Regions from separate parts of the Homo sapiens genome. Here regions 2 and 3 are each linked to region 1. The links are contacts of gene promoters, found by promoter capture Hi-C in blood cells and fetal thymus (Javierre and others, 2016). All regions are on one chromosome and are shown on one strand. Each heading gives the region's core, a stretch centred on a gene start or on the middle of the fragment in contact. The rest is flanking DNA. Distances are from core to core; before and after follow the strand shown. Region 1 holds the start of ASB7 (ankyrin repeat and SOCS box containing 7). Region 2 has its middle 180 kb from the start of LYSMD4. Region 3 has its middle 210 kb from the start of LYSMD4.

The links. Contacts are between HindIII fragments. The CHiCAGO score rates a contact against its expected background, and 5 or more counts as called.
Region 2: a contact is called between a fragment that was not itself captured here and the fragment with the promoter of ASB7 in region 1, in 1 of 17 cell types (naive CD8 T cells). The highest score is 5.1, in naive CD8 T cells.
Region 3: a contact is called between a fragment that was not itself captured here and the fragment with the promoter of ASB7 in region 1, in 8 of 17 cell types (naive CD4 T cells, naive B cells, total B cells and 5 more). The highest score is 11.1, in naive CD4 T cells.

The regions. Positions count from the first base shown.
Region 1 is chr15:100,601,076-100,604,334 of GRCh38, forward strand. ASB7 (ankyrin repeat and SOCS box containing 7) reads left to right here and starts at 1,514. Exons shown (of 6, transcript NM_198243.3): 1 at 1,514-1,971; 2 at 2,140-2,238. It overlaps LINS1 (lines homolog 1), which reads right to left and starts at 1,109. Exons shown (of 7, transcript NM_001040616.3): 1 at 1,046-1,109. RefSeq lists an enhancer at 1,027-1,366 and silencers at 1,537-1,796, 2,247-2,296. The HindIII fragment of the contact is 6,685 bases long and covers 1-3,259 here.
Region 2 is chr15:99,908,169-99,911,427 of GRCh38, forward strand. No RefSeq gene overlaps it. Among named protein-coding and RNA genes, the nearest start is that of LYSMD4, 180 kb to the left of the region's middle. The HindIII fragment of the contact is 6,298 bases long and covers 1-3,259 here.
Region 3 is chr15:99,939,017-99,942,275 of GRCh38, forward strand. No RefSeq gene overlaps it. Among named protein-coding and RNA genes, the nearest start is that of LYSMD4, 210 kb to the left of the region's middle. The HindIII fragment of the contact is 2,540 bases long and covers 506-3,045 here.

The DNA of each region.
Region 1 (3,259 bases), core at 264-2,763:
GCATTTCTAATTCTCTCTGCTGGCAAAATTCTCTCCCTAGATCTTGGCATGGCTGGCTCTTTGTCATTCAGATCCCTGCTCAAATGTCACTTCCTCAGAGACCTTTCCTATCTGTCTTAGTCCGTTTCCTGTTGCTTATAAAATAATTCCTAAAACTCGGTAATTTATAAAGAAAAGTAATTTATTGTCTAGTTTTGGAGGCTGGGAAGTCTAAGACTGACGGACCACGAGACAGCACCGCAAAGTATCACGTGGCCAGGGGGCTGAGCAGGCTCACGAGTTGTCAAGTCTCTCCTTAAAAAGCCACCAGTTCTACCTCCGTGATAACCCATTAATCCATGAATAGATCAATCCACTCGTGAAGACAGAACCCTCACGGTCCAACCACCTCTTAAAGACTCTACCTCTCAGTACTGCCACATTGGGGATTAAATTTCAACATGAGTTTTGAAGGGGACAGATATTCACACCATAGCACTACCTATCTAATACAGCCCATCACGTCCTGGTCAAAATCGATTCCACCATTCTGCTTGATTTTCCTCATATAACCCATCCCTATCTGATAATTTTGTGTTTGTTTCCCCGAAATCACTATCTTGTTCACTGTTGTCTCCCCAGGGACTAGAACAGTGGCCAGTAAACACTTGCTAATGAATAAAGTGCTTAACAAACGTGTCTTGATCAGTCTATCTCGCGTTTTCCCCACGACCCCTCTCCATTCATTCACAGGAACCCGCCAACGTTGCTATCCTTTCAGGAAGGTCCTTGGATCGTCATCGCTATCCCAAAGAGAGTCCGTTCTCCCACTTCAGGCGAGGCATTGCCAGCCTGGAAGCTAACGGGGTCTCAAGGACCGACAGCCGCGCCAAGACCGGGCACTTGCGTCTGACAAGCGCTGAACAGGGGCGGAGAAACAAGGCACCCCTCTACTCGCTTCCTGGAGCCTGCCGCCCTCCCAACCTTAAGCCCTGAACCAGGCTCTCATTTGGCCGCACTCGTGCCTCCCCTGCTGCCAGCACGGCGGCCGGTCCCGGTTACCTGCCTGGGATCTGGCTCAGGCGAACTCTCTTCACACCGCCATTTGAGGGAACACAAATGCCCGCTCTGGGCCACCGTAGTTCACAGAAAGTACAAGCTGGCACCTCCTCCCGCATGCGCAGAGACCGCCTTCGGCGAATAGTGTCTCTTAGCAACGGCTTTGAGTCCCTCCGCCAGGGGCGGAGCCTCGGAAGCCACCACGGGGAAGCTGTAAGGGGAAGTGAGTGAGACCAATCGGAGACGAATCTCTGCCCCGTTCGGCACGCCTCCCTTAACTGTCGCGAATGCAAAGGCAACTTTACGGCAGGCAGAGGGTGGGGGCTGCCGGGGGTAAGGAGGAGAGAAGGAAGCAACCAACCAACCAAGTCGTCCCTACTCCCTCCACCCCCACCCATCCCGGACCTGGTTTACGGCTCCAGGCTCAGGCTCCACTGCGGGCGCTGATTGGTTGTTGAAGGCTTGGTCCCATCCCAGTGACCCCAAAGTGCTGAAGGGAGGGGGCGGGGGTGGCCCAGTGCAAAGTGCATCCCGAAAGCCCCCTGTCCGGAGACCCCACGGCTGGCACTTCGGGCCCCGTATGACCTGGGACCTCGCCGTCCCGAGACCTCCTGGGTCCCTCCGTAGCTGGAAGCCTCCGGCCCGGAGCGCGGCAGCCCCCTGCTCCGAGCCCTGGACCGGGACTGCCCCCCCACCCGAGCCAGGACTTCCTCCCTGCCTCCCTGCACCTCTGCCCCAAGGCTGCCCGGCGGCCGGGATCGCCACCTCCTGCCTTCTCGGCTGTTCGGATGTTCGCCGGGCTGGGGCCGTGAGGCACCGAGGAGGATCAGGAACACCAGGGTCCGGCCCTGCCTGGGGTATTTCTTCAATGGAGAAGTTGGTGAGTGTAGAGGAGGCTGAAAGGAGGAAGAGAAGCAGCAGCTGAGGAGACAGGTAAAGTCCTTTACTTCCCCCGAGGGGAAGAGTGCTGGCTGGGAGGGTAGGAGGGAGGAAAATCTCTGCTTTTTCTTGCCTGCCCTTGCCACTCTCCAGCCCCTTTCCTGAGCTCCCCCCTCCCCACCTCTGAGACACTACACCACTCACTGGTTTCTGTTTTTCTAGGTTTGAGCTGGCTGAAGAAGACGCGAAAGCAGGAAGAGGTCTGCCCACCTATCAGAGAAGCAGAAGGCACAGTGCCTCTGACCAGCATCGTCTGTAAAGGTAATGAGCCAGCCCTCCCCTCCCCCGTTGTTTATTCCTGGCCCCTACCTCATTAAGCAGTGGTTTATTTTCAGGGTGGTTGCCTGGGAATGCAACCTTTCCTACCCCCCCCACCCCCACCCCCAGTTTCCCAGGAAAAACAAAAACATTACCCGTGCCTGATACTTAACATTTTATAACTTCTCTACCCAGGACAGTATTTTCCCACTTTCTTTCTGTACAGTGTGTTTCTGTGTTTTTCATTATCTTTTGGTACACTGTGCCATTTACTCTGCTCTGAGGCTTTGAGACCTTTTTGTAGCTACCCTCCCTTCCTTACTCTCATAGGAATTCCTCAATTCCTTGTTAATTGCTTGTTAATTCTGAATGACTTTCCTTTTTAATTAAACCACAATTTACTGTTTTCCCCCTTACTCTTTCCTATCACCTTTCTTCTACCTGCATCAGAAAAATCTTTTGAGTTATCTAACTGACAACGATTTGGTAGAGAAAGGTAAATTATTGGCCTGAGATTTATGAGTTTCAGAAAATAGTTTGATTTTATTTCCTACTAGAAAGCCAACCTGTGTACCTTAAGAGTGTGAATGGTATGAAGACAACATTATTACCCTGAAGCACTTAGGCATAATTAACTCTTTGGGCTTTCTGTGTGTTTGTGTGTGACAAATGTGGATGGGCTTTGAAACTTATAAAGATACAATGTTTCTTACACCTCAGATTTTCTAGGAGAACTTTTAAAAATTTGCACAATATCTTATTAATCGTTTGACTCAGGAATTTAAAAACAAAGGAACCTTTTGGTGTGTTTACATATCTGGGTCTTAATTTTAGCACTCTATAAAAAAGATTTCTCATTTTAAAACTTTTACGTAGAGTTTGCTGGATTGAAATTTAAGCATCTAATTCATGTGATCACATTTCTGCTGCCATATTTTGTTGCTGCTTCTGAAAATGCTCTGAAAGTAAACTTAGGACATTAGTGTAATTCCTAAAGGGGGGATATAAGCATGGAAATTATACA
Region 2 (3,259 bases), core at 364-2,863, 690 kb before region 1:
TCTGCTAAAACTGCCTTCCTTTTGCCAGTTTTTTTTCCATTTGGCTATTTGCCTTTTTTTTTTTTTTTTTTGTCAATACAGATGGTCCCCAATTTACCATGGTTCAATTTAAGGATGTTTTGACTTTACAATGGTGTGAAAGTGATATGCATTCGATAGAAACTGAACTTAAATTTGGAATTTTAGTGTTTTCCTGTGCTAGCCATGTGTGGTACAAGACCGTCTTGCAATGCTGGCCAGCTGCAGTGGCTACAGCTCCCAGTCGGTCACTCAAGTAGGAGGGTAAAGAACTGATACTGCGGCCGGGCGGGATGGCTCATGCCTGTAGTCCCAGCACTTTGGGAGGCCGAGGCGGGTGGATCACGACGTCAAAAGATCAAGACCATCCTGTCCAACATGGTGAAACCCCATCTCTACTAAAGAAATACAAAAATTAGCTGGGCATGGTGGCATGTGCCTGTAGTCCCAGCTACTCGGGAGGCTGAGGCAGGAGAATCATTTGAACCTGGGAGGTGGAGGTTGCAGTAAGCCGAGATTGCGCCACTGCACTCCAGCCTGGAGACAGAGCAAGACTCCATCTCAAAAAAAAAAAAAAAAAAAGAACTGATACTCCACAGTGGACTGCCTTGCCAGATGATTTTGTCCAGCTGTAGGCTAATGTCAGTGTTCCGAGCGCGTTTAAGGTAGGCTAGGCTCAGCTATGATGTTTGGTAGGTTAGGTGTATTAAATTCATTTTCAACTTAACAATCATTTCAACTTACAATGAGTTTATGTGGATGTAACCCTATCTTAAGTTGAAGAGGCTGTGTATATGTATGTATGTGTGTGTTTATGTATCATTTCTTTGGAGCTTTTTGGATTTTGGAATTGTAAACAAGAAATTGCGACCCATATTTTCACCCCTATTTTACAGAGGAGGAAACTGAGACACAGAAAAGTGAAGTAACCCGCCTGGGGTCACACAGTAGAGGTCTAAGTCAGGATTCAAAGCCAGCAGTCTGGCCCAGAGCTCCAAATCTTTGGCCTTACAATACTTTGCCACCGCAACAGCGTGATCGGTGACAGGCCCGCTGTCTGTCCTGGGACGGGTCAGCTGAGCCCCCATTCTGAGAGTGAGCCCTCTGGCTGCTTGTTGCACACTGGGCTTGGGTTGCAGGGCTGCAGGCCCCCTCGCTGGCTGGCTCCTGGAAGCGCTGTGCTCCCACAAAAAGCCAGCCAGGCCTGAGGGCTCAGGGCTCACAGGTCCATGGAAATCAGCCCCAGGTGACTCCTTCCCACCTCTGCCCATGAAATGTGCCTCCCAGGCTCCAGGTTTCCCCTGGAATACAGGCCCCTGGTGTTCCCAGTGCTGTACCTGCAGTGTCTGCTTTGCTCTGAGGCCATGGCATTATTGACTTAAAATAAGCTGCTTGGGCTTTTAAAAAACAAAGAATCTGCAGACTCTGTAGCCCTTTTCCTTTCCACCTGTGCTGGGGAGCATGGCAGTGGAGAGGGTGGGCAGGCCGCTTCCTGTTGCGTAGGTCAGGCCCCCCCCAGCCCGCCCTGCTCCACGCTCTGGCCCCTCTATCAAGAGCTATTTCTCATTTTTTCCAAGCATGAGGTTCAGGTGTCTCCATCCTCCCAGGCCCCCGGCCCCCTGCCCAGGGATGCCTTTTATGGGACCATGTCTGCCCTCAACTGGGCCGCCCTCCGAGTTCTCTCCATTTTATTCCCCTGATGCCTGAAGTGGTGTTTGTTTGTTTGTTTGGTTGTTTCTGGAGATCCGAATACACAACACTTGGGGTTGAGGTTTTTTTTTACTTTGCTGGCTGGAGTCTGCTTCTCTAAGGGTGGAGGAGGGAATGAAGAAAAGTCCTGAGCACATTGCTTTAGAAACCTAATCTAGTGTGGTCAAGTGGAAACTCAAGGGCAGTCTGTCTTGGAGGAGAGCGAGAGGGACAGGCAGACAGGTCGTGGGGCTCCCTCTTCTGGGCCTGCCGAATACAACCTGCTCCGCCCATGCCTCACTTGGTCCTTGCAACCCAGGACTCGTGCTTTTCCTCCCCCTAGTTAATTTAGTCCATTATTTTTTCATTCTCCATAGAATATTGGTTTTGTAACACTCAATACAGTTTAATATATACCATTTAGACAAAAGTTCCACCTTACGAAAGATCAGCAAAAATACATCAGCAAAGATATAACTAGTGCATTTATAAAATACATCATAACAAGGAATCCAAACGATCACACACAATAATCTTCACGTTTGACATACTGGTTACAGCCTAGGAGAGCTCGCTAAATGCCAGTGTCTTTGGCAAGTGATTCACATCTGTAAGCTGTAAACCCAAAAATATCTGAGACAGGTCTCAATCAATTTAGAAGTTTATTTTGCCAAGTTAAGGACATGCTTGGAAAAAAGGCACACAAAACCACAGGAACAATCTGTGATCCGTGACTTTTTCCAAAGATGATTTTGAGGGCTTCAGTATTTAAAGGGGAAAAGCGGGCTGGAGGGGAACGAGGGAGGGGACAGTTGCATTACTGAATCCACATGTTGCAAGAAAGAAACAGGTAGGGGAATGGTCAAAAATGTGTTCAATTTTTCTTTCTTTTTATTTTTTTTGAGATGGAGTCTCACTCTGTCGCCCAGGCTGGAGTGCACTGGCGTAATCTCGGCTCACTGCAACCTCCGCTTCCCAGGTTCAAGCGATTCTCCTGTCTCTGCCTCCTGAGTAGCTGGGATTCCAAGCGAATGCCACCATGCCCTGCCAATTTTTTGTATTTTAGTAGAGACAGGGTTTCACTGTGTTGCCCAGGCTGGTCTCGAACTCCTGAGCTCAGGCAGTCCACCCGCCTTGGCCTCCCAAAGTGCTGGGACTACAGTTGTGAGCCACCACACCCGGCAACATGTATTCATTTTGTGGTCAGTAAATTAGCACTTTACCCAAGATAAAGTGAACATAGAGTAGCTACCTGTGGAGATATCTGGCCTTTCATCTGTAGCAATCTGCTTACGAACAGAAGGAAAGGCAGTTTCTTGCACGGCCCAGCCTTCAGCTTATTTTTTTTCCTTTCGGCTTAGTGAAATGGAATCCTGAGATGTTATTTTCCTTTCACAAAGCAGTAACACTGATCAATCCTAACACCTCTGAAATGTTAGTTCTTGATCAGATAAACCCAAAATAAATCAACAAGAGTACTGAAATATGACGAGGATGAAATCCAAAGTTTTTGAAAGGGGCAATGTTTAATAATAAGAAGAATGTTGAATTG
Region 3 (3,259 bases), core at 526-3,025, 660 kb before region 1:
CAGTACGGACGTTTTAAAAACATCAATTCTTCCAATTCATAAGCATGGAATATATTCACTTATTTGTGTCCTCTTCAATATCTTTCATCAGTGTTTTATAGTTTCAGTATACAGGTCTTTCACTTCCTTGGTTAAATTTATTCCTAAGTATTTTTTTTATGCTTCTGTAATTAGGATTGTTTTCTTGATTTCTTTTTCAGTTTGACCATTATTTGCATATAGAAATGCTACAGATTTTTGTATATTGATTTTGTATTTTGTAACTTTACATAATTCATTTATTAGATCTAACAGGTTTTTTTTTTTTGGTGGACTCTTTGGCATTTTCTACATATAGGATTATGCCATCTTCAAATAGAGATAAGTTTACTTCTTCCTTTTTGATTTGGGTATCTTTTTATTATTTTTTTCTTGTCTAATTGCTCTTGATAGAACTTCCAGTACTATGCTGAAAAGAAGTGGTGAGAGTGGGCTTCCTTGCCCTGTACCAGATTTGAGAGGAAAAAGCTTTGTTTCTCCCCATTGTTTATGATGTTAGCTGTGTCTTTTTGATGACTAGCTTTTATTATCTTGAAGAACTTTCCTTCTATACTTAAACTGTTAAGAGTTTTTTTTATTATGAAATAACGTTGAACTTTGTTGAGTGATTTTTGTGCATCAGTTGATATGATCATGTGGTTTTTGTCTTTCAGTCTGTTAATGTGATGTATAACACTGATTGGTTTGCATAAGTTAAAACAGCCTTGCATGACACTTGATCATGATGTGCAATATTTTTGATGTGTTATTGAACTCAATTTGCTCCTCAAATTTTATTGTGGATTTTCACATCAATGTTTATCAGAGATATTGGCTTGTAGTTTTCTTTTCTTGTGGTGTCTTAGTCTGGCTTAGGTATCAAGGTGATGTTGGTCTTATACAATGTGTTAGGGAGTATTTCTCCCAGTTCTATTTTTTGGAAGTGTTAAGGAAGCGTTGATATTAATTCTTTGAAAGTTTGGTAGAATTCATCTGTAAAGCCATTTGGTCCTGGGCTTTTCTTTGTTGGGAGATTTTAAATTACCACTTCAATCTCTGCTGTAATAGCTCCAATTTCATTTCTTATTTTATGTATTTGAGTCTATTCACCTTTTTACTTAGTCTAGCTAAGGGCTTTTTTTTTTTTTTTCAAAAAACCAACTCCTATTATTATTATTATTATTATTATTATTATTATTATTATTATTATTTTGAGGGGGAGTCTCACTCTGTTGCCCAGGCTGGAGTGCAGTGGTGCGATCTTTTTTTACTGCAACCTCCACCTTCTGGGTTCAAGCAATCCTGCTGACTCAGGCTCCCAAGTAACTGGGACTACAGGCATATGCCACTACACCCAGCTAATTTTTGTACTTGTAGTAGAGACGGGGTTTCACCACGTTGGCCAGACTGATCTCGAACTCCTGACCTCAAGTGATCCACCCTCCTAGGTCTCCCAGAGTGCTGGGATTATGGGCATGAGCCACTGTGCCCAGCCTACTCTTATTATTGAATTTTTCCCTATGGTTTTTCTGTTCTCTATTTGGCTTATTTCTGCTCAGATTATTATTTCCTGCCTTCTGCTAACTTTGGGTTTAATCTGTTCTTTCTCTAGTTCCTTGGGGCATAATATTAGGCTAAATGTTTAGTGTTTAGTTGGAATCTTTCTTCTCTCTCTTTTTTTTTTTTAATGAATTCTCTCACTCTGTCACCCAGGCTGGAGTGTAGTGGCGTGATCTTGGCTCACTGCAACCTCTGCCTCCTGGGTTCAAGTGATTCTCCTGCCTCAGCCTTCTGAGTAGCTGGGATTGCAGATGTGCAGCACCACACCCTGCTAATTTTTGCATTTTTAGTAGGTGCATTTTTCTTGTGGCAGTTCTTGACTTGAAGTCTATTTTATCTGCTGTGATTATAGCTGCACTGCTTTCTTTTGGTTATCATTTGCATGAAATATCTTTTAACCCTTCATTTTCAGTCAGTTTGTCCCTAAGGCTAGTGTGGGTCTCTTGTAGGCAGCATATCCTTAACCTTATTATTAAAAAAAAATCCATTTAGCCACTCTGTCTTTTGATTAAAGAATTTAATCCACTTACTACATTCAAAGTAATTATTGATGGGTAAGGACTTACTACTGCCACTTTTTTGTTTTCTGGTTGTTTTGTAGATCCTTTGTTCCTTTCTCTCTTGTTCATCTTTGATTTGATGAGTTTCTGTAGCACTATTATTATTTCTTTCTCTTTACTTTGTGTATCTGCTATACTTTTTTTTTCTTTGTGGTTACCATAAGGCTTACGTAAAACTATAGACTATTTCATACTGAAAACACCTTAATTTCAGTCACATACAAAAACATTAGACTTTTACCCTCCCTCATTTATATTTCTGATGTTGCAGTTTACATCATTTTATATTATGTATCTCTTAATATAGCTTTTTTTTCTTTGACTATTTTGGTCTTTAACCTTTATACTATCTGTATCTATATATACTTTATAGAACTATATATAACAATATTAGAATATTCTAGAGTTGACTATATATTTACCTTTACCAGTGAATTTTATACTTTCATATGTTTCCATGTTAGTTATTAGTGTCCTTTTATTTCCACTTAAAGAACTCCCTTAGACATCTCTTGTAAGGAAGGTCTAGTGGTAATAAATTCCTTCAACTTTTGTTTGTCTGGGAAAGATTATTTCTCATTTATTTCTGAAGGACAGCTTTGCTGAGTATAGCAGTATAGTTAGCAGTTTCTTTTCAGCACTTCGAATATGTCATTCCATTCTCTCCTGCCCTACAAGGTGTGTGCTGAGAAATGCACTGATGGTCTAATTGGCATTCCCTTATGTGACTTGACATTTTTCTGCTACTGCTTTTAAAATGTTGTCATTGACTTTTGATAGTTTAATTATAATGTGTCTTAGAGTGGACTTCTTTGGGTTGAATCTATTTGGGAAAAGTTGAGCTTTGTGTATCTGAATATCCATGTATCTTCCAAGGCTTATGAAGTTTTCAGCAATTTATTATATAAGCTTTCTTTCTCTATCTTTGTCTCTTCTCCTTCTGGAACTTTCATAATGCAAATATTTGTTCTTTTAATGGCATCCCACAGGTCCTATAAGCTGTCTTCACTCTTTTTCATTCTTTGTTTTCCCTCCTCTGACTAATTTTAAAAGACTCATCTTCAAGTTCAAAGATTCGTTCTTCTCCTTGATCTAGTTTGCTGTTTAAGCTTTCTATTGTA